Regions from separate parts of the Homo sapiens genome. Here regions 1, 3 and 4 are each linked to region 2. Evidence: promoter capture Hi-C in 16 types of primary human blood cells and fetal thymus (Javierre and others, 2016). All regions are on one chromosome and are shown on one strand. The core of a region is centred on a gene start or on the middle of the fragment in contact, and the rest is flanking DNA. Distances in the headings are between cores, read along the strand shown. Region 1 overlaps LINC02641 (long intergenic non-protein coding RNA 2641). Region 2 holds the start of HMX3 (H6 family homeobox 3). Region 3 has its middle 39 kb from the start of LINC02641. Region 4 has its middle 69 kb from the start of LINC02641.

Region 1 (5,927 bases), core at 1,889-4,388, 220 kb before region 2:
GGTGATAACTTCACAGAGAAAAAGAAGACATGGGTGGCAGGGAGGGTTGCTATTGAGCTGACAACTGAGCAAAGACTGGAGAAGAGTAAGGGACCAAGCACTGCAGGCACTGGGGACAGCAAGGGCCATTTCCTCACCCTATTCACCCAGGGACAATGAAAGAACAGAGTCATGACCACCTGGTACCCAAGCTCCCTCTGGGACACAAGTGATATACTTACAGCCAGGTCATTGGGTGAGGCCAAAAGGATGTTGTGCCCATGCTGCCCAAGAGTTCAGAGGCTCGTGTACCCACAGTCCATCTGCTCCAGGGCGCATGGGCTGTTTGCTGGCTGGTGACTCAGTGGAGCCCTCAGGAGGGGAGCAGAGGAGGTGGGAGCAGCACTGACCCAGCATCTGTTTCCCTGGCTTTCCCCAAACATTGGGCTCAGCATCTTGGAGGGAAGCTTCCAAACCCAAGGAGTGCATTGCCAAAAGACGCTTAAACAGAAGAAAACGAGAAACAGCCAATATGTTCAAACCATCTAGAACTACACGTAAAAGACATCAGCCCAAACTAAGCCAGCTAGGGACATGCACAACAACCTTAGGGAAGCTGCTGAGCTATGGCTAGACCCTCCCTCCCAACCCTGATCAACCAGCCTCCCAGGTTTGTGAGCATTTGAACTGGGAGCCCACAGACAAGCCATTTCTCAGTGGTTTGGAACAGTTTGTTGTACCTTGATGACTGGTTTCTGTTATGATGCATCAGATCAGCAGTGTCATTGATCAGAAATGTTCATTTCTGTGTTTTTCAAATCTCTGATTGTTAAACTCACCAAATTTATGTTTGAAGATGGCTCCCTCCACCAGTCCTGATTTTGTGTGGATACAAGAGCTGCTGCTCCAGCCTAGAGCCCGGGGTTTGCCCATCTCTCACCAAAATCCAGTCGGAGATGAAAGTGTCGTCCATCTACTTTCTGACCAGGATGCAGAGACAAGCATTCTAAGTCAGCGTGTTCTCTCGTCTCCCAGAATCAGGGCCTTGCTACGGTCCTTGGGCTCTTCTTCCTGGAACGAGGGTCACAGACATACGTCAAGAAGGTCAAGGAGTCTGGATGCCTCCCTTTCTGGTGCTCGCCTGCCAGTCAGCCTTGCCCTTGCCTGGCTACCTGCCCCCTGACCCACTGCTCACCCTGTCCTTGAAGCTCTTCTTGACTCATATGTTTGTGTGTAAACTTCCTGGGCTGCAGACCTGGCCTGAATGCTCAAGCTTTGCTTAGAACTTGGAGCCTGGGACCAGCCCTCCTAACAGCCCTGCCAAGTGGTACCCAGAGGCATCCCAAACTGTGTGTGTAAAGCCTGTTCACCTTGCCTTCTGGAACACAGCCTCTCCTGTCATCCATGAATCTTCCATGGCAGACCTCTCTGCCATCTGCCTCTCCTAATTCTCCTCTCTGCTTTACACTAACCAAGTAGTTACTAAAAGAAAAACAACAGCAACAACAACAACCATAGCAAAACCCCAAACTCCAAAGAAGCATATTATTCATGTTTCTTTTTAATATTCACTTTTTAATTTTAAGCTTTACATAGATATTAACTTCATTTTCCATCGACCTTCATTTTCCATTGACTTCCTGGGGATATGAATATGAAGGTTTTTTCCACCTACAAATGACATGTTTCTATTAAGCTATATTGGGGAAAGTATCATTTTACATGTGGTCCTAAATCCATTCCCCTTGTTAATTGGTTTAACATAATTTTGCAAATTCTAATCTTTTAGTTAAAAGAAAAAATCATTAATGCCTGTGGGAACCAGATTGCCACAATCATTGCCCACACTCAGAATTTCCCAGAGACTCCCAGCCTCAGCAGTATTACCAAGTCATGCCTCCTGATCACCATCTTCATCTTGCAATTCTTGGCATGTGAGTTGTAAGCAACAGTGATGGCTGTGGAAGGTATGGCTGCACCTCGGTGATCCAAAATTTTCCCAGACTCACACTCTTCCTCAGGATTAAAACACCTTTTTGATTTTGTATCTTGGAGACAGACAGAAACAAATTTTCCCGAAGCAGGAGTTGGATGATAAAGGAATGCCTAAAGGCGGATGCCAGGTGGAAAGTCATGGCATATAGTAAGTGCTCAACCAATTGTGCTGAGACAATTATGACTAAGAGTAGAACAACTCTGATGGTAACAGTAGTAAAACAGGCACGAATCCTCAGAGAGGCGAGGAGGTAGTGACTTATCTCTGTGAGTCTAGGTGAGGGTCACTTGGCATTGCCCGTCTGTCTCGGTGACAGGCTGGCTGCACCGGGTGCTGGGTCCACTGTGTAGGAAGCCACTAAGGAACATTCTGCAGGGACAACCCACTGACCCAGTTCTTGGGCTCAACTCCTAGGAAGATCAGACTCGATAGATATAAGAGATGCTCAATTTTTCTACAGTTCTAGAGAATGGGAAAGAGAACCCCCATGCAAGCAAGGATGCATAACCTAACACTGGGAGCAGATACCATTTCCTGTGAGCCTCAGTCACAACCACCCAATATCAGCAAGCTATGTTATCACCAACCCAGAAAAGGGGAAGTTACTTGCCAGAAGTAGTAGGAGGCTGGGGTTCAAACTCAAGGTCCTACATTCCTTTCACTGTGCAGCATACAAATAGGGTGCTTTTTTGTTTTTGTTTTTGTTTTTTTTTTGAGACAGAGTCTCACTCTGCTGCCCAGGCACGATCTCAGCTCACTGCAACCTCTGCCCTCTGGGAGATTTCAAGCTATTCTCCTGCCTCAGCTTCCGGAATAGCTGGGACTACAGGAGCATGCCACCACACCTGGCTAATTTTTGTATTTTTGGTAGAGACGGGGTTTCACCATGTTGCCCAGGTGGGACTTGAACTCCTGACCTCAAGTGATCCACCTGCCTCAGCCTCTCAAAGTGCTGGGATTACAGGCTTGAGCCACCGCACCTGGCCTAGGGGGCTTTTCAAACTGGGTTTTTTCTTGCTATTTGATGGGTGTTTTTAACAGAATGAGGATCAGACTAACTCAGTCCAGGTGGTGGGAATAATAATGGAGTCATCCTGTGGCCATTCAGACAGCAGCTGGAGGCCCATGTGCTCTGGCAGCCAGTTGGTGATGAGTGCCCAGGAGAATCAGAGAGCAGGAGCCAGAATTGAAAGAAGCGGGCTAGAGACAGTATGAAGCACGGTAAGCGATCAGATTGACAGTAGCTGGCAGCTTCAGCAATGACCCAAGGTCAGCAGAAGTGAGTAGGAGAGTCTGGAAATGCTTTCACGTGAGCAGTATTCAGCAGGGCCTGCCTGCGCTCAAAAGTGTGACTCCAGGGACCCATTCTTCCCACAGGAAGCCAGCTCTTGGTACCACCATAGCCTGGATCTAACAATGACTTAGCAAGTAGCTGAGACCATAGGGAACAGGGACCCTGTCCACAGCCTCCACTTCCGTTGATTCCATATCTCCAGCCCAAAGGTTCCTTGAAACCCCAGAGGCTAAAGGGGCCTTGAGCCACAAGCCCAACCTTCTTCCTGGATGGCCCGGGGGATTGTTTCTGCTGCTGTCGTTTCTGCTCATGGATGCGGGCCTCCCACTGAAGTCTCCACTAGCGGTCCCCATACACAGAAAGAAAAAGAAAGGCCCAGGGCTCACCCAACACCCAAAAGTGTTGCCAGTCCCTGACTCAGCCTCCTCAAGCCCCCCAGGGAAGCAAACCGAGCCCCACAGCCTCCTGTTTCTCAACCCCAACTCCCATACCTTGCCATCCATCTCAAGGCACAGAGCTCCTCAGCCTTGCGTTTCCAGTAGAACAGGCCCAGCGTGCCTGCAGCCGCACACCCCCACATGTTATTCTTGCCTTTATCTTGTTAGCATAATGCTCAGCTTCATTAGCCAGCCAGATGAATCATTTAGTAATTGGAGCTAATGAATTTAATTTTCTACTTTCTATTTTTTTAATAATAAAACAAAGTCATATTTTACCAACAGGTCAGGGAAGGCTCCAAGTTGCTGTTTTGAGTCAACGTTAGGCCAAGAGTACAAAACGGCAGACGGGGAAGGAGTTGGCTCCCTTTTGCTGATGTCACCGCCTTTTCTGGAGTTTCTCGGTTAAGGAACCCCATGGAAGCATTATCCCAAAGTTCTACGGAGAATGATACTAAGGGCCCGCATGAAAAATTGATGTTGCCATGGTGGCAGCATTCCTAATAGGACAGTATGAAGAGTAGGAGGCACTCACAGAAAATAAACAATGCACAGAGTTATCAAGGAAACACCCTGATATCAATTAGATGAAGAGCTATAAGGAATCTATTTATCTTGGAGAGATTTCACTCCAAGGGTCCCAGTACCCCTCAGTCAGGTGAATTGGATGGATAACATACACCTTCCTTCTCACTCCCCGTTACAGAAGACGCGAAACCCAACAGTGAACCCGTACCTGAAATGTCAACGTGGGAAGCCAGGCTAATTAGAGTGGGGCCAACCCGCCCAACCGCATAGCTGACATGCACCCGCTGAAGCCTTCTTGTAACTTGACTACCCGAAGCCTCATCCCTGATTAACAGAGCCTAGCTGCAAACTAAAATGCAGTTAATTTATTGTAAGTTTTATTAGGCATATAAAAGGGAAGCAGGAATGACTAGCCTTTCGTTGCTCGAGATACATTTCATCCATGACACGGAGCAGATTCCTCATAGATTAAGCTTGTTAATTTCCCTCCCCGCCAACATTCTTCTCCGCATTGCTGAAGCAAAAGCCACAGGCTCTTGTCTGAAATGGATGGGATGAAAAGGGCTGGGGGCCCCCCGGACAACAGTTACATTAACCACTTTGTCCTTTTAATTCATCTAATTACATGCAAGGAGAAAGCTGCCGCCTTAGCAGGCTCGCTCTGCGCCAGAGCGCGATGCCGCTGGGCCATTGCTTTGGGCTTTTTGTTGTCTTATTAGGGGTGCTTTTGTTCAGAGGGATGGTTAAAGCCATTTTCAGCAGCTAGCAAGATGAAGCCGCTTCAATAAGGACACAATGTACTTGTTTAAATTACCTTTCAAAATGCTCAAAACCATTAAGGGGGAGGGGCTGCAAAGAAAAGTTGGATTTTTTTTATAATGTTTTACCCTAATAACAGCTTTTATTTTATTATAATCCATTAGTTGACAATATTATTCTATAGATTATTAGGCAGCAATTTTGCTATTTTATCACACTTTCAGCACTCACTCACCGGGCCAGAATCCACAAATCTCAGTATAATATGCTTTCAATTTTGTTAAAATCTCTATTTAACTGGTTTGGCTGCGGAACATCTTGGCAAATGTGTTTTTAATTTCGTTCTAATTAACTTGACAGTTGACAGAACTCGATGGTGGCATGATGGTGTCCCCTTTTCCAGGGTCCCTGCAAGCTCCATGCCTAGGGTCCATTTTTTTTTTTTCCTCTCCCATCCTAACAAGGAAGATGTCAGAGCTAACATCCAGGAAAAGGGTCTTTCGTCTCTGTCAAAAGTACATGCAATTTTTTAAAAACCAATTAAAAAATCTGGCTTTCATCTTTATCTGTAAAAAGAAGGTCGTTGGTTCTGTGGGGTTCTCAAAAAATGGCTTGTCCTACGGATGTGGGTCCTGAAAGATGAAATGAAGACAAAGCAAGTGGGAGGGAGGGTTTTTTTTGTTGCCCAAGAGGACGCCAGCTCTTTCCCAAAGAGATACTGTGAAAGAGTGGCCATCCTCCCTCTCTGTCACCGGTACTCGGTGGGGAAAGAGACTTCAGTTCTCTGCTTTTGGGGATCAGCCTGAGAAGAGCAGCATTCAGAGAACTTACCCTTGTTCTTTAAACAGTTCCAAATTATCTCTATTGTCTGGGGAATTTCACTCTGGCAACCATTCTCCAGGTGCCCTCTCTGTCTTTGCTTCCAAAATCCTGC
Region 2 (5,438 bases), core at 1,762-4,261:
TTTCTCAGGAGATTTTGTACAATATTGCACAGGTCAACGTACAATAATTACTGCAGAACATGAAAAGTAAGAGGAGAGGATAAAAGATATCATATTAAAAATACTGAAATTACTCTCTCAAAACAGGGAACAAAGTAATAATAGTAATATTAATAATAATTTACAAATGAAATTCTCAAAATAAATGCTACTAATAAATAAGACCACTTAGACCAGGCCAGATATGGAGCTGTTTCAAATAGTCAGAGTTCTGATTTTTGGCTGTCTTTTCTCTTTAGACACTTAGAGAATTCTTCCATCACAAAGTAAGACCGATGAAGAGGCTAATTGCAACAGACCTCTCCAGAAGAGAAAAGCGGCCTGAGTCGGGATTCTTATGAGAGGCTGCTCATATTTTGAAAATTAAGGTGGATAACTGATTTGGGGGTTGGGAGGAAGAAACATACCCAGAAATCCAGAAATAAAAGTACTATCATATGAATTCTCTCCCTCTCTGGATTCTGAAAACAGTTCTATAGAAAAGGAATAAACTAGGCCGGGCGCAGTGGCTCACGCCTGTAATCCCAGCACTTTGGGAGGCCGAGGCGGGCGGATCACGAGGTCAGGAGCTCAAGACCAGCCTGGCCAACATGGTGAAACCGCGTCTCTACTAAAAATACAAAAATTAGCCGGACGTGGTGGCACACACCTGCAATCCCAGCTACTCGGGAGGCTGAGACAGGAGAATCACTTGAACCCGGGAGGCGGAGGTCGAAGTGAGCCGAGATCGCGCCACTGCACTCCAGCCTGGGCAATAGATAGAGCAAGATTCCGTCTCGGAAAAAAAAAAAAAAGCAGAAAAGAATAAACTAGAGGGATTTAGGTTTTGCGCTTATTTTCCTTCTATAAAAATAAAACCAAAAAGCCACCGCGCAATGGAAATTTGGAAGGGAGGGCTGCACATTTTACAAAAACTATCGGCCGAAATCTCTGACCCGAAAATTTTGTCTTGTTCCTGCTTTCTCTTAATATAAGCCAAAAACCAAAAGTAAGAGGGGAAGCGCCTCCAATCCATTAGGGATGAATTGCACGAAAATGCATTGCAAATACTTACAAAATGCTACCGACTGGGGGAGGGGAAGCAGAGGCTGCGCGCCCAAGCCCCAGTTCCTGAAGGCCGCTGGACTTCTCGGCGCCCTCGGCCCGGCCCAGTCTCCTCCGGGGTCCGGACAAGGAGGCCGGGCGCTCCCTCCCCCACCCCTCTGGGGCCTCAGACCGGCCGTAGCAGCGGCACGGAAGAGACCACCGGGTGCGAGTAGTAGACGGGGTGCGGGAAGGTGAGCAGCGGCTGGCTGACTGGCACCGGGGCCCCCGCGGCTGCAGCCGCCGCGCCCTCGGCCGCCGAGTTCTCGTGGTAGAGGATGGGCACCCGCACGATGCGCTGCGCCGCGGCATGGCTCAGGTTGGCCGCCTCCAGCTCCGCCGCCAGCTGCCGCTTCCACTTGTTGCGGCGGTTCTGGAACCAGATCTTGACCTGCGTCTCGGTGAGGTGCAGGGACGCGGCCAGGCCGGCTCGCTCCGAGCTGCTCAGATAGCGCTTCATGTCGAAGGTGGACTCGAGCTGGAAGACCTGGCTGCGCGAGAAGACTGTGCGCGTCTTCTTCTTGCGGCACGCCGGCTTCTTCTCTGGACTTTCAGCGCCCTTCTTCCAGTCTTCTGCGCCCGGAGTGGCCGCCGCCGCCCCTACGCTCGCCCCGGCCGCGCCTGGCGCCGCTTCGCCTTCCTTTTTGCTTTCCTCGGAGTCGCTCTCCTCCAGAATGATCTCGTCCGGGCTCTTGGAGTCCAGCTCCTTGTGATCGGGGTCGGCCTTGAGCAGTGGCTCCGGAGAGTCGCGGTCTGTGCCGGAGGCGGGGGAGGAGTCTCTCAGCAAGGCCTTCTCCGAGGCTGGGGAGACAGACAGACGGACGCACACACATGCACACCGACACAGCCTTGAGCGAGGCCCGGCGCCTGGGGACGGCAGGCTCAACCCGCGCCGGCCTCCAGGTCCCAGGCCATGAGGCCTCACCATTCCCGCGGGCTGCCTCCTTCTCGGCTGGGCCAGAGAAGGGACGCCGAGTCCTGGGATCCCCCTCCTCCCGAGGACAGGCAAGCAGATGGTGGTAGCGCGGCCACCTCCTTCCATTCCCTCAGCTTCCTCGCCAGGGGCCGGCAGAACGGTTCCCTTTCGGCTTAGGCGCATTGGAATCACCCCCTCCTTCCAGGCCGTGTCCCAAGCCCCGGCCGTCCGAAGCCTCCCTATTCACGCCCGAGGCCACTTTTCCCGGGAAGCACCGTGCCCGGGGCTCCAATTCCACTTCTTTTCTCACCAAGTGGGATTGGATTAACGGGCAGCGCAACCCAGCGCGAGGGCAGGCTAGGGGCCGAAAAAAACTGACCGAGCAGAGGGTTTGCGGGTGCTGGGGTCCCAGAACTGCGGAGGGAAGCAGCGCGGGGCGGGGACGGGGCGGGCGCGCAGGGGGACAACGAAAGTTCAAAGAGAGGTCGGTACCTTCAGGTCGCGGGAGGTGGCCGCCGGCGGGGGTCAGGGTGTAGGGGTACCACCAGGCTGGGGAGCGCTCCAGGTAGTGCGCGGGCAGGGCAAACCTCTGCGCCGGGATCTCAAAGCGAGGGAAAGCCAGGTCGCCCACCTGCGAGAGCGCGAAGCCCGCGGCGCCCTCCAGGGCCCCCTTGGCCGCCGCGGCAGCGGCAGCGGCGGCGGCGGCGGCAGCCGAGGCTGGCGCGAAGAGCGTCCGTGGGGGCGGCTGAGGCTTAGGGGGCGGCCGGTGGTGGTCTCCGTTGAGCAGGTTCTTGATGGAGAACGGGGACTCCTTGGGAGCGGGTGGGGGGGGCGGCGGCGGTTGGGGCTGTGCGCTGGCGGTGCCGGCAGCGTCCGGCCCGGGTTCCGGCATGGTCCCCTCTCCTCCGGGTCCCCGGGAGGGAGGGAGCGGGACAGGCGGGCGGCGGGGCGAGCAGGCGAGAGGCCGGAAATCAGACCATAAACGGAACTCAACTACGGGGCGCAAAGTCGGGGGCCGCCCCGGGCGCAAATCCAACGGCGGGAGGGCGGAGTGAGGACCCAGACGGGCGGGCTCGCATGAGGGAGGGGTGCGGAGGGGCGGGGAGCGGCCCTGCCGCGGCACCGAGGGATCGAGGCGGCTCGGCTGCGGCTGCGGCTCCCGCGGAGGAGGCAGCAAGAGCAGTCCCCGGCTCGAGGCTGCGTCAATCCGGCGCCGGATGCTAATGATGAAATCAAAATGTCATCCAAGTTAAATGCGGGGAGTATACGGCGATTGGGCGCGTACAATGGCAAATGGGATTAGGCAGGCGAAGGCTCAGCCGAGCCCCGGCCCCGCAGCCGCCTCCGCCACCGCCCCCTCCTCGCCTTCCCTCGGATTTTGGCGCTTTGGCTTCGGGCTATAAGAGCCCGCCCGTTATTGGCTTTATATAGTCCAATTAGGCAGCAAATGAGGACAAGCCTATTAGCACAAAAGGATATTGGCTCCCGCTAAAGAGGCACTCGGAGCGCTCCTGCGAGCGCAGGAGGCGAGCGAGGGACGCGGAGCAGGCGGCGCCCTTGGCCGAAGCGCACTAACGGCCGCGAGCCCGGAGACCGCGCCTGCCTCTCCCCCCTGCGGCGCAGGGACCCGCTTCCCGCCGCCAGGCCTGCGGGAGGGGGGAGGGGCGGACCAGGCCCTCCCGGGTCACCTCGGGGTTATCTGCGCTCGCAGCTGCCGCTCCCCCGCCCCCTGGGGCTGGACAGGGGCCCGCCGCCCCCACGCAGCTGGAGAGCCACGCAGCGCCGGCCCAAGAGGCAGGACGTGACCTCGGCCCTCGGAGAACTCATCATTTTCCTACCCTTTGGGGTCCGGCGACCTCGGTATTTTTCCTAAAGCCTGCTAGGAAGGGCGAGGCCAAGAAGAGAGGGATTTGGGTTCCCCACCCACCATCCAGCCGATAGTAAGGGAATCCAGGTGTAAGTCCTCGCACTGCGTCTTCGGACTCAGAAATCCGCGTGGCCTTGGCCTTTAGCCCTGGAAAACCGAAGAGTGAGCCTTCCCCCGGGACCAGGAGTGGGTGTGCCTGTGTGCGTATGCGCGCTGACCCGGCCAAAACCCGCGCGTCACTCGGTGGGGCTGCTGGGGCAACAGCTTCTCGGCACCGACGGCTGCTCTCGGAAGGGCACCCCTCTGCTCTGGCCGCCGGTGCCCAAGGCTCGCGGATCAACTCCGAGTCTGTGACCCCGACGACAGCACTTTCTCCCAGGAAGTCTCTCCGGCCAGCTGGCGTTTGGAGCTGTCTAACTAACGCTTTAATGGGGGCAAGGTGAACCGAAGGCGCAGCGGCGTAGCTTCCTCCGCCGCGGCAAGCAGCGGCATCCGCTGCGCGTCTCGACGGCAGCGAAGTCCTTAGAGAACCACACTGGACCTTTGCAGAACGGCTTAGTGAAAGGACATTCCACTCCACTGGCTTTAAAAACAGCTCCCCGGTTCGCACGAGAAGCCCATGAGGCAGACATTTAAGACTCATGATTTAAGCATCAAGTAAATCAGAATTGTTTGTGAGGTCCCCTCCCGAGAGACAGCTTTCTTATCAGAGAAAGGTGACAAACTGGCCTCACCCTCTTCCACCCTGGTGAAGCTCCCGCACACGAGGGCTTTTTGGGATCCCTTCACCTCCCCACCGCTTTCTTTTTCGTTAGATTGAGCCTCGCCTAATTCAAGGCCGCCCTGCATTGGCAGACGTGATCGTGTGGGGTCCCCACTTGAGAGGTAGATTTTGTTTTTCGGTCCTGGGGCGTCAGACCCTCCCCCACCAAATCTCGACGGGCATATGTAATGTTTCTTTCTGCATTCATCTACAGCAGCGAACCCCATTTTTGCTTTGGAAATCTGGAAACGTAAATGGCGCTTCCATAAACAATTACTGTTATTACTCCCTTGAGTTTACACAGGGCTTTACTGGAATGCAAAACGCTACGCCATCCAAAATCTGGGTTGGAACGGATCACTGCCCTGAGACCCCAGCAGGGTGGGTCTCATACTTGGATTTTGTAAGTGGAAACCCGCGCCCAGAGAGGAGGAAACTGGGCCTAGGTCGCCCAATCGCTGCTGGATACCCAGAGGTCATTTTCCCCCAACCGCAGAAATAGCTCGATGCACGTAGGTCTATGAGGGTTGGGTGGGCACCGCCTGCACACAGCCTGCCACGCGGCCGAGTATGCGTGGAGAGACCCCGGCGTGTATGCCTGTGTGTTTTGGGAGCTTCGCCATTCAGCGCAGACGCATGCAAACTTGGCTAGAGTTCTGACGCACGAAAGTCGACTTTAAACTGGGAATGCTGAGGGTTCAGTCTGGGGAGGGGGACTCGTGGCTGATCACAACTCCAGCGCTAGACTCAGATGGGGAGGGGACAGGCCC
Region 3 (5,375 bases), core at 2,754-5,253, 170 kb before region 2:
TGTTGTACATGGAATAAGGGGCGGCCTTAGCCATCAACCTTCTTCAGGCTACTGGTCTGCTTATGCTCTGTCAGGCTGCATCGAGACACACATGCACCCTAGGAGGCTCCTGTTTTACCCCATTCATTCATTCCTCAACAAATATTCCCTGGGTGACATCATAGCCATATCTTGTTTTACTTAGAGGAGAGGAAGGGGGATGGATAAAGGGCGGACCTGGGGACAGAGGCCTATCCTGCAGTGGAATAGCCCATTCATCAAAGCCACGGCTGTGTGGCTTACTAAACCTACCCTCCCAGAAGGTCCTTTGGCTATGGTCAGTCAGACTTTTCCCCACCTTAAGAGGCTTTCCAGAATGTTCCTTTAGTCACATTTATGCCTGTGCCTGGGAGCAGTGTAAGTATTCTTAATTTCTCTATCACAGGATATTTCTAATTATGTAAAGCCACCACACAGGGTCTGGCACTTAGTAGATGCTCAATAAATGGTAGCCATTACTATCCCAGAGTGAAGAAAAGATAACCGTTGAATATCTACGGTCTTCTGTGGAAGCACATGCATCCACGCTGGGGGCCAGCAGTGGTGGTGTAAGAGCATATCATGGGCTCAGCCTCCAGCAAGAGCCTCTTGATCCCAAGATGACCAACAATTTTGAATTGGGCATTGGTCAGCCCAACACAATCTTGTTGTCCAGAGAGCCACGGACAGGGGCAGGCTTCCCCCAAGCTTTTCTCTAGAATTCTGGGGCTGTTCTGGGCACTCATGGGGTCTTCAAATATTTAATTCAAATTAATTATTTACTGTACATAATTTTTATCATAATGATATGCCTTCCAAAATTGAACACAATGGAGACACACCCAATGCATTATCTGGTATTGCAACTTGTTTTTGAGCACAGTTTTTCTGATCTGTCACAGACCAAAAAAAGAAACAGGAAAAAAAAATTTTAAAGACCACACATCAGAATAATTTTCTCCCTTATTACTGTTTAATTAATGAATATCCTTACATTTCAAAGTAAGCTACTTTTTAAAATTACCATTTGCAAGCATAATTGGTTCACTGCTATAAAAATAATACTCTTACCTGAATTGGATGCTGAGGCTGTTATAGGCTGCAAGTGTAACTCATAAACCCAAATTCAAAACAGTCTTATGGTTCTCATTGATTGATTTTAAAACATCATTCATTTGAACTTCTAAATTAGATTTAGACTGCCAAAATGCCCTTTTTTATCTGTTACATATGTTAGAATTCCCAATTAAATTGTGTTTGCAAAAGACTCCTAACACAGTTTATAGGCCATTAAGAGAGCCTGGTGCAATCCCCAATGAGGGCCAAAAAGTGAGAACCCTTCCAGATATCCTAGGAGAGCTTGGGCCAGCTGACAGCACTTTAATATCACTGAGCTCCCGCTCGAACCCCAACATTCTCTATGCTTCTGAAAAGGGGGCCACTTTGACTTGGGATTCCAGACTTTACAGTTAAAAGAACAAAAGAACCATGGGAAAAAAGACTGGAAGGAAATATGCTGAAATGCTAACATGCTAACAGTGCTTTTCTCTGGGTGATGGGATTCTGAGTGACTGAATTTTCTTCTTTCTTATTCGGAAGTTTTCCACAATGATCATTATAAATTGGTATTTTGGCCAGACACATTCCCTGCCTACTCACATTATTACTTTTTTATTCAGAAAAGAAAGTAGGATTTTGTATGTTCTGTTATTTAAAAGGAAGACCATATAATATCTTGGCTTCTGTTGTAACCAATCCCTCCCACTGCTGGCCCCACACCCAGAAGAATGAGGAAGCATTAGGCAGCTCCAGAAATGCAAGGCCTCCCACCACCACCCACACCCCACACTCATGCATCCAAACAGAGGCAGTCAGGTTCCAGGCCTTCAGCCTCGCATTACTCAGTGTACCCAAACCGGATGAAAAAGAATGAGAGCAAAGTTTAAAAACAAAGTGAACTCGGCCAGTCAGCTCGTCTTTCCTCTTTCGGTCCCTCTGACTCCGTTCTCAGTCATAGCAGGCTTTCCCCACTTAGGGCTGTAAGCTCAAGCACATAAAAATACAAGGGTCCCAGATAAGCAATGACAAAAAAATTTTAAGTGTAAGTATGTCCCAAATATTGCCTGGGACTGTTCAAAAGTATTTTTTGCTGTTTTTAGTCATTTTAGTATTGGTTGTTTATCTGAAATTAACTCTAAATGGGCATTCTGTATTTTATCTGGCAGCCCTATCCCCAATTCAAACCAACTGACTCACCATTGGAGATGTTTTTGTCCAGTTTGGTTTGATTCGGTTGGTTCTTGTTGCTCATGGCAGGCAAGCCGATTTAAAAAACAACAACCAAAAAACAAAACCCTCAACCAAGGTTTTGTTTGTTGTTGTTGTGTTTTAATTGGCTTGCCCGCCAACTCTCTGACACTGGGCAGGCTTCAGTCTCCTCAAACGAATGAGTAAATGTCACTCCACCCACCTTGCACATGGCGAAGACACCATGAGATGATGAAGGGAAAGAATCTGGGAAGTAGGGCTACAAGCAGGTAAGCCACCCAACAAACTCAAAATGGAGAAAGCAATGAGTTGCTTGCCTTTTCTCCTTCTTTGTGGGAAACACTGGGACACTACAGCTTCCACTTAAAACTCTATGGTATATGTACAAAGACAATGAATTAAATACTTAATATGCAGACAATTCCAATAAATTAAACAACTCCAATAAAATAAAAAGAAAGCTGCCAGCACCTAAGTAGAAAAATGATGAAACAGGCATTCCAGTACAACATGCTTCACCAGAGCACCTCATGGTAGTGTCCTCAACCTCGCCAAGCCTCAGAAGCCCCCACTAAATGTGGAGCATAGTGGCTACTCATGGGGTGAATGTGAGGTCTAAATGAAATAACGCATCCCATAAAACACTCAGTGCTGGCACTGTTCCCTCAGTTAATGATGGCTGTACTTAAGTCAAAAAAATATATATATATACACACATCTCAAAGAAAACACATATGTGTGTATATATATTAAATATGTTTTTCTTATATATTATATATAAATAATATATATTATGTGTGTACAGATACACATATATACATACGTATTTAATGTTATATTTCTCATATATAATATATAATATATAAATAATATATATTTCCTTTGAGATGATTATATATAATACTTATATATGACATATATAAGATAATATTTATATATGACACATATAAGATAATACTTATATAATACTTATATATGACATATATAAGATAATATATATACTTATAAGATAATTTTTATATATGACTTATATAAAAGTAAGCAAAAAACAGGGAAAAATTTCTACTTTATTAGAAATAAAATAAATTGAAATTAAGCTTTACTTATGAAATTGGCAAAGGTTGTTAATAACTTTAATAACGACATTATTTAAAAGATCAAAAATGTTCATAAATATTAGATAAATAGAGAACAGTTAAATAGACAATAAATGAATGATTAAACATATAAAGAATGGTTAGATAAACTACGGAATTTTTTAAAATCAGAGAATGAGTGAATTATGGAATTCTTTATGTTGGACATTCTAGGGAGTCACATTAAGTGATGTGTTATGATGAAAAAGAACATTTGATGATATGAAATATGTTCTTAATATAGTGAATGAAAAATTTCAGAATATGATGTACAGTATTATTATATTTGGATTCATGGATATGGATACAAATAAAACAAAGACAATGAAAGCACATAAATATTAACGGGAGTTATATCTGGGTATGGATGGTTATGGGGAACATTTATTTTCTTCTTTGTACTTCTCTACTTTCCACATTTTCTATAATGACCATATAGTACTTTTGTAATTTTAAAAAAAGTTGGTTAAAAAATTCAATACTAAAAAAAAATTCAATACTGAACTATTGGGAAGTGAACTTAGTTTTAGGAGATCACAGAGTGTTCAGTGTATGTGTATACAACAGTCTCCCCCTCCTCCTCCTCCTCCTTTTTCTTCCTCTTCTTCCTCTTATTTCTCTTCTCTCCCTTTCTCGCTCCCTCTTCTGGCCTCCCCTTCTCCCCCCTCTTCCTCCCTCTCTCCCTTCTTCTCAGGAAAACTACAGTAATGAGCTCCAGCTTCCCCCTAGCACACTGCCTTCACTGAGGGTCCTCCCAGAGTCTTGTGTGAAGGGCAGTGCAGCTACAAACTCTCTATTTTGAGACATCCCACATTAAGCATCTCGGGGCAACTTTCCATTAGAATTGCTCCTTCTCCAGTCCCTAGCAGACAACTTCCTTCCATCCCAAGAGCAGGAGGCTGCCCTTAGGAAAGGTGGACCTATCCTAGTCTTAGAAATAGCAACAAAGTTTAAGTCGAACTCTTCCAGGTCATTTTCTCTGAACTTATACCAACATCTGGTGACTGCAATCATGCACTCATTCTGCAAAACAAGATGTATCAAGCACCAAAATTCAGACGCGCTTACGGAGCCCTCAGCCTGAGGAGTAGCTGGCGCTAGATTCTAGAACCCCCAAGATGCAATAAGACTGTTGTAATGGGGATGCACACATAGCACATAGGGAGTAAGAAAAGGTGCCCAAGAGTCTGGGAAAGCTTCACATAGGGGAAGCCCAAGAACGACTGCAGTTTGCAAGCAGGGAGGAATATTCCAGACCAAGAAAACAGAAGACTCAAAGCTACCAAATTCAAGACCATGGCTTATCTAGGACCCTATGTTTAATGTGAGTTGTGGAAGGAGAGGTGATTGGGCCAGCTCCTGCAGAGCTCTGAATGACACTGTAAAGAACATCTGCTTGCTCCCAGCAATGCTATGCAGTGGAGGGACATGATGAGATTGTCCCAGGACCAGCCCTCCACATGAACACTCCACCTCAGTGTCCCCTCCCCTATTCCCATGACGCACAGAAGGAAATGTATCCCAAAGCCTCAGTTTCAATAGGCACTACAGAGGGGTTTATCCGAAAACCAGGCTAGATGAGGCCAGGAGGCTTCCAAGCTTCCAGAGCTCCACAGAAGAGCTGTCCCCATTCCTCGCCTTGCTAAGACTGAATCAGTTGTCATCCTCCTCTCGAACTCAGACATAATCATCACCAAACCAGCAGGCACCATCACCAGTCCTAAGAAAGCCTGGAGTCATCTCGGCATGCATGCAGGAAGGAAAACCGTCCTTCCCAGACACTTGTCCTTGAGATTCACACCACCTTTCCTAGGTCCTCCCTGAGCACCCAGCCTCGGCCCACCTAGATGTTTGGAAGTGGCTGAAGGTGATGTGCCTGCTCCCATCAGGCCAAACTGGCAGTCTAGGGACTCTGGTCGACAGTGAGTGGACTCTCTCCAGAATCCTGACATC
Region 4 (5,814 bases), core at 1,834-4,333, 140 kb before region 2:
AGAACCAAGAAGAACATAGAAAATGTCTGTGAAAAGCCCCTATATTATCAAGTGGTCCACCTCAGACAGGAAAGTCGGCCAGCACCTGAAAGCAAAATTCAAATCTGCAGACAGGTTTTTTGAGTTACTGACAATCATGATGATGATGATGATGATGATGATGATGATTATTAGAAATGTTTATTATTATTAGAAATGAAGTGGCCCAGGCTGGAGTGCAGTGGCATGATCTTGGCTCACTTAAACCTCTGCCTCCCGGGCTCAAGCAATTCTCCTACCTCAGCCTCCCGAGTAGCTGGGATTGCAGGTGCGTGTGCCACCACGCCGGGCTAATTTTTCTATTTTTAGTAGAGATGGGGTTTCACCATGTTAGCCAGGCTGGTCTCGAATGCCTGACCTCAAGTGATCCACCCGCCTCAGCCTCCCAAAGTGCTGGGATTACAGGCGTGAGCCACCATGCCCAGCCTCTATTTAGATTCTATAATCACAAAGATTAAGGAAAATTTTTGTCTCATTGGAGGGGTATTTTGCCCCAACCATTGCTCATCACCGCATGCTTGTCCGAAGGCCTCTGATGGTGCCATCTTGAGACCATTGAGTTCCAATCATGGAGATGGGACACTTGAAATAGTGGGATGCCCTGGCAGGGGGACACCCCCACAACAGGCTCAACAGCTTCCAGCTGTCATCACAAGGGCCTCAGAGGTGGAGCACTGATGGCGCATTAAGCATCCTGGAGCCATACATGAAGGGATGCATTGTTGGGCGTGATGTACTCATTTTGAGCACGTCTATGGTATAGTGGTTTTCTTTTTAACATGCTGTATACAGAAGGCAGGCCTGCCGCGAGGGAAACCGGGGCTATAAAACCCGATTGATTGACACGACCCATCACCGTTTTTAGGATCCGTTGCACAAACTATTTTGACAGTTGAGGCTCATAAATTAACAAGGAAGCCCAAAGTGACACAATGAAGAAGATGTTGCGGCTGCTTCAATTTAACCGCTGGGTGATTACTCAGAAACTCGGGGTGCAGAAGGCTGCCTCCCTCTTTTGTTCCTGCTTAGCTGGAAGATAAATGTCAGAAACTAAGGACCCCGGGCACTCAATAATAAAAACCTTTTAGAGAGGAGAGCCTTCCACTAGTTAAAAGAAACCTGTTTCATTTTTCTGGGGGAAGAAATGAAAGTAAGGTTTTCCAATGGCAGACATCGAGTCCTTTTATTGAGACTAAAAAGTGCAAATCCATGGAGGAAAAAAAGAAAGAAGGGAAAAGAGACAGATAAGAAAGGGAGGGAAGGAAGGAGCCAAATGAAGCTGGCAGAGCCGTGACTGGAGCAGCAGGGTAAATGTTGAGGGATTAAAGCAAATGAGCATAAAGCTTATGCATTTGGGAGGCGCCCATACCTTCTTAGGTGTTAGCAAGATTAATAAGAAAATCTGTGGCTTAGAATCCCCAACGAGCTATTACAGGACTTCACAGTACTGTGTTTGCTCAAAACAAATGGTGGCTGCAGTATTTTAATCTCTGAAGAGAAAGAAACTCATATGTGAGTGAGAGGCTTAGATTCTAAAAGGATTTTATATAGAGACATATATGTCACAGAACACAACCCCCAAAATGGACTTGCTGTTCTCATCCAAAAGTAATTATTGCCAAAGAACAAGTGATGGTTGAAGAGACTGCCCCTCCCAGAGGCGCAGTGAAAGGTAGAACCGATTAGAAATAGAGTCACAAGTTGGATCAGAACACCAATTTCATAATTGAGTAAAATGTACTCCTTCTTCTTTTCCTTATGAAAGTAATTCCCTGAAAAAAAAAAAATCAAGTGAATTGAATTACCCACGTACAAATGGCACCCTTTCAGCTGAGCAGACATCACCCCGTATTTCAGTCCGAGCAACTTTTAAATTACGTGGAGAATTCATGGAATGTTTCTCAGTTTGACAGCTGTCAAGCCAAAAAGCATGCTGCTATGTAGGAAGCAAACCCTCCAAAGATTTATTTTTATAATGGATTGGAAATTAAAAGGGCTTCAAAATGCCCTTTAGAGACACAGCTGGGGGAATTGGGCAGAGTTACAAAGAGACTTTTCCTTACAAGTGCTGAGAATTGGGACTGAAAGGGCAGGTCAGAGGCATTTGGATTGTGTCTACATGAAGCCAAAACAAGCATTTGAAAAGTTAAAGATGCAATCAAGCCAGTGGGTCATTTTGTCTACACAATACCAAAATGCCAGATTGGCCAGATGTGTTCCACCAACTCTGAAGTGAGAGAAAGGGAAACAGAAAGGACCTTTGAGCAATAAGCCAGTACAGAGGAAGAAACTGAGGCACAGGACAGAAGGAAGGGAGAACTCTCCCAGGGTCCCGTGACCAAAGAAAAGATGGAGCAAAGTCAGAATCTGGGTAACAGCAATCTCAGAGGGACTCCCCAAACCAATGGACAGAGACCTCAAGTTGGGCATTTTTACATAGGATGAGGGGCCATTGGGATGCCAGATTTCGCAAATAAAAATTCAGGACAGTGAGTCAAATTTTAATCCAGATACACAGTAAATAATTTTTAGTTTAAGTATGTCCCATACAGTATTTGGATACTAATTACTGAAAATTATTCATCGAGTATCTGAAACTCAAATTTAATCAGGCATGCAGTTAAGTCTGTCAACACTATGTGGGGACATTTCTTGGGGACAGGAACAAAGTCTGACACATCTCTCTTCCCTGCCCTACAGCAGCCAGAACCACATGACACGCAGAGCAGTCCGGAGTCTGCGACTAACCAGGTAGATGACACCAATGGGCTTCAGTGGCACCTAAAGATCTAGGAGTTATAGGAGCCTGGTGCTTTCCCACAAAGTGTCCCATTTAATCTTCCTAATCACCCCTCAGGCTAGGCCTCATTACCTTCCACAGTTCACAGATGAGGAGACCAAGGCTCAGAGAAGGCCTCGGTGAGTGGCAAGAACATTGTTTCCCAGGTGCCTGGACTCCTCGAGCACCACTTTTTCCACAACGTTAAGAGGAGCAGGCCAGGCGCAGTGGCTCACGCCTGTAATCCCAGCACTTTGGGAGGCCAAGGCGGGCAGATTATCTGAGGTCAGGAGTTCAAGACCAGCCTGGCCAACATGGTGAGACCTCCCCCCACCCCAATCTCTACTGAAAATACAAAAATTAGCTGGGCATGGTGGCACACGCCTGTAATCCCAGCTACTCAGGAGGCTGAGGCAGGAGAATTGCTTGAGCCTGGGAGGCAGAGGTTGCAGTGAGCCGAGATCATGACACTGCACTCCAGTCTGGCTGACAGAGCAAGACTCTGTCTCACAAAAAAAAAGGGGGGTGAGCAGCCATGCCTCTGGAATAGCACCCCCAAGGCCAGACTCCACTCCAGACACTGCATGTTTCATCCTTAACCTCCTCAACAACCCTGTGAAATAGATAGGCGATTTTCCTCATTTTCTAATGTAGAAGCTGCAGCACAGAGCAGTGAAGACACCCACCCTGGCTCACACAGCCAGGACCTACCCAGCTGTCTGACTCATGCCCTCCCTGCTACACAGCCCTCCACCACAGGGCCCTATGGCCTCCATCATACCTCATCACACCAAGACCTGGTCAGGATTCGCAGTTCATATAAACACAGCCATACTCCATCTAGTGCTCTAAGAAGAATGCAAAACCCAGTATGCTCTGTTGGGAGCTGCTTTGGCCTACAGGCCCAACCTGCTGCTGTGACATACACTTGCAAGACAACAGTAACTCTCCCTGATCAGGAGCTGGCTGTGGAGCAAAGGCACTGGGGCAGAGGCTGGGGCATGGTGTGTTATGGCTGTGATATGGTTTGGCTGTATTCCCACCCAAATCTTGAATTGTAGCTCCCATAATTCCCATGTATTGTGGGAGGGACCCACTGGGAGATAATTGAATCACAGGGGTGGTTTCCCCCAAGCTCTTCTCCTGGTAGCGAATAAGTCTCACAAGAGCTGATGGTTTTATAACGGGTTTCCCTTTTCTCTTGGCTCTCTCATTCTCTCTTGTCTGCCTCCAGGTAAGAAGTGCCTTTCACCTTCCACCATGATTGTGAGGTCTCCCCAGCCATGTGGAACTGTGAGTCCATTAAACCTCTTTTTCTTTATAAATTACCCAGTCTTGGGCATGCCTTTATCAGCAGCATGAGAATGGACTAATACAGGCCTTAAGGCCCAGCTGTAGCAGGCTTCCTCCAAACAACAGGACACATCTCTCTACTCTGAAAATGCAGATTGGGGTTTGCTATGGATTTTGACATAACTGCTACAAACCAATATGACCACTTGATGGACATTGCCCTTTAATTGCTGTGCTTCTAGAACAAATTAACATTCTCCTTATAGGAGAATGTGCTTTGTGCCTGGGATGTCTGTGAATCACTTCTGCCAAACTTGATTTCTGCTTATACTTAGAGATGCCTTTCAAAGGGATCCCATTTAGCACGAATGCTCCAAAGCCTCTTCAACTCCCAGTAGCAATTCAACAAAACAGTGGACACTCCCCAAGGGCGCAGGTGCCATGCCCGCTGTACAGAAGGAAGATGTGGTTGGGCCTGGGATGAGGCCCTGTGGGGGTGGGGAGTGCCATCTGCAGCGGGCACAACTAGATCTCCCAATAAAACCCCGCAGAACCAGATGCAGGTCTCATCCTTGGCTTCCAAAAGCGTGGGCGTGAAGAACTAAACTCCGAAGTCAGATGGCTGCACTCACGGCCTGGTGCCACCACCGCTAGGTGACTTGGGCAAGCTTTTTGTCTCTTTTAGGCCACAGTCTCTCATTTCATCCTCATAACACATATCGAGCACCCAATAGATATTAACAAAAAATCAATCAAGAAATACATCCTATTCTGAACTCTAAACTCCATTGTGCTATGAATTAGAATTACTATCCAAATATGAAAAAGTAGCACTTACAACTAACACAATGGAAACAACCTACCTCTTAACCCAAAAATTTATTCCAAAGTATTAAGGCTATTGTGTAAAAGAATAAGATTTATAAAAATAGTAGTGAACAGATCTTTGAGAAAATTTCTTTGACAGGGGAAAATCCTTTCTGCATAAGAAGTTGCTCACTGAGAGATAGTTATATATTTTTGTGGTTTTTTAATATGTTCTTTTCACCCAGTGGGGTGAGAGGGAGTCACCCGTCTGTCCAGTTCCTCCAGCTGAGGGGACGTAAAACCTCAGCCACAGCTTCAGTCCTGCCTTGTGCTGAGCCATGTTAGACCCCTACTCAAGCTCCGGAGTGTGCTCCCCTCCCTGGGCACCCACACCTGGATGACACCCCCTTCCTCAAGGACTGGAATGCAGCATACCCCACAGCCGATGCTCCAAGTAACACCACTGTAAAATTCCACGTGTATCAGGATGCCTGCTGCACACCAGGATCCCAGGCCCCCTTGCCCTCCTGGCCAGGAGGCACAACTGCAGAACCTCCTGTCTGTCCTCAAGTGCTTGCTTGCCCCACTTATGGAAGAGGACCTTCCCCTGAGGCATCTGTGCTGGTGTCCTGTGGCTGTTGTGATAAATTACCACAAACTGAGTGGCTTAAAACAAGGGAAATTTATCATCTCAGAGTACTAGAGGACAGAAGGCCAAAATCAAGGTGTGGACAGGGCTGTGCCCCACCAAAGGCTTTAGAGAATCCATTTATTGCTTCTTCCAGATTCTGGTGGCTGCCAGCATGTTTTGGCTTTTGGCCACATCATCCCAATCTCTGTTTCCATCTCTTCCATTACCTTCCCCTCTCTGTGTCACATCTCCCTCTGCTTCTCTC

Evidence for each region. Contacts are between HindIII fragments. The CHiCAGO score rates a contact against its expected background, and 5 or more counts as called.
Region 1: a contact is called between a fragment that was not itself captured here and the fragment with the promoter of HMX3 in region 2, in 4 of 17 cell types (M0 macrophages, M2 macrophages, naive CD4 T cells and 1 more). The highest score is 7.5, in M0 macrophages.
Region 3: a contact is called between a fragment that was not itself captured here and the fragment with the promoter of HMX3 in region 2, in 2 of 17 cell types (M2 macrophages and naive CD4 T cells). The highest score is 5.2, in M2 macrophages.
Region 4: a fragment that was not itself captured here is called in contact with the fragment with the promoter of HMX3 in region 2 in 1 of 17 cell types (naive CD4 T cells); the score reaches 5.8 in naive CD4 T cells.

The regions. Positions count from the first base shown.
Region 1 is chr10:123,356,442-123,362,368 of GRCh38, reverse strand. It overlaps LINC02641 (long intergenic non-protein coding RNA 2641), which reads right to left. Exons shown (of 12, transcript XR_007062326.1): 3 at 3,761-5,927; 4 at 1,867-2,085; 5 at 1,350-1,461; 6 at 222-1,050. Among named protein-coding and RNA genes, the nearest start is that of LINC02641, 11 kb to the right of the region's middle. The HindIII fragment of the contact is 3,142 bases long and covers 1,568-4,709 here.
Region 2 is chr10:123,133,543-123,138,980 of GRCh38, reverse strand. HMX3 (H6 family homeobox 3) reads right to left here and starts at 3,011. Exons shown (of 2, transcript NM_001105574.2): 1 at 2,531-3,011; 2 at 1-1,923. The coding sequence starts at 2,930. The coding sequence ends at 1,250. RefSeq lists enhancers at 699-1,663, 2,846-3,796 and silencers at 2,583-2,632, 2,643-3,052, 3,103-3,182, 3,563-3,692, 3,723-3,842. The HindIII fragment of the contact is 8,924 bases long and covers 1-5,438 here.
Region 3 is chr10:123,306,449-123,311,823 of GRCh38, reverse strand. No RefSeq gene overlaps it. Among named protein-coding and RNA genes, the nearest start is that of LINC02641, 39 kb to the left of the region's middle. The HindIII fragment of the contact is 1,235 bases long and covers 3,386-4,620 here.
Region 4 is chr10:123,276,399-123,282,212 of GRCh38, reverse strand. No RefSeq gene overlaps it. Among named protein-coding and RNA genes, the nearest start is that of LINC02641, 69 kb to the left of the region's middle. The HindIII fragment of the contact is 3,397 bases long and covers 1,385-4,781 here.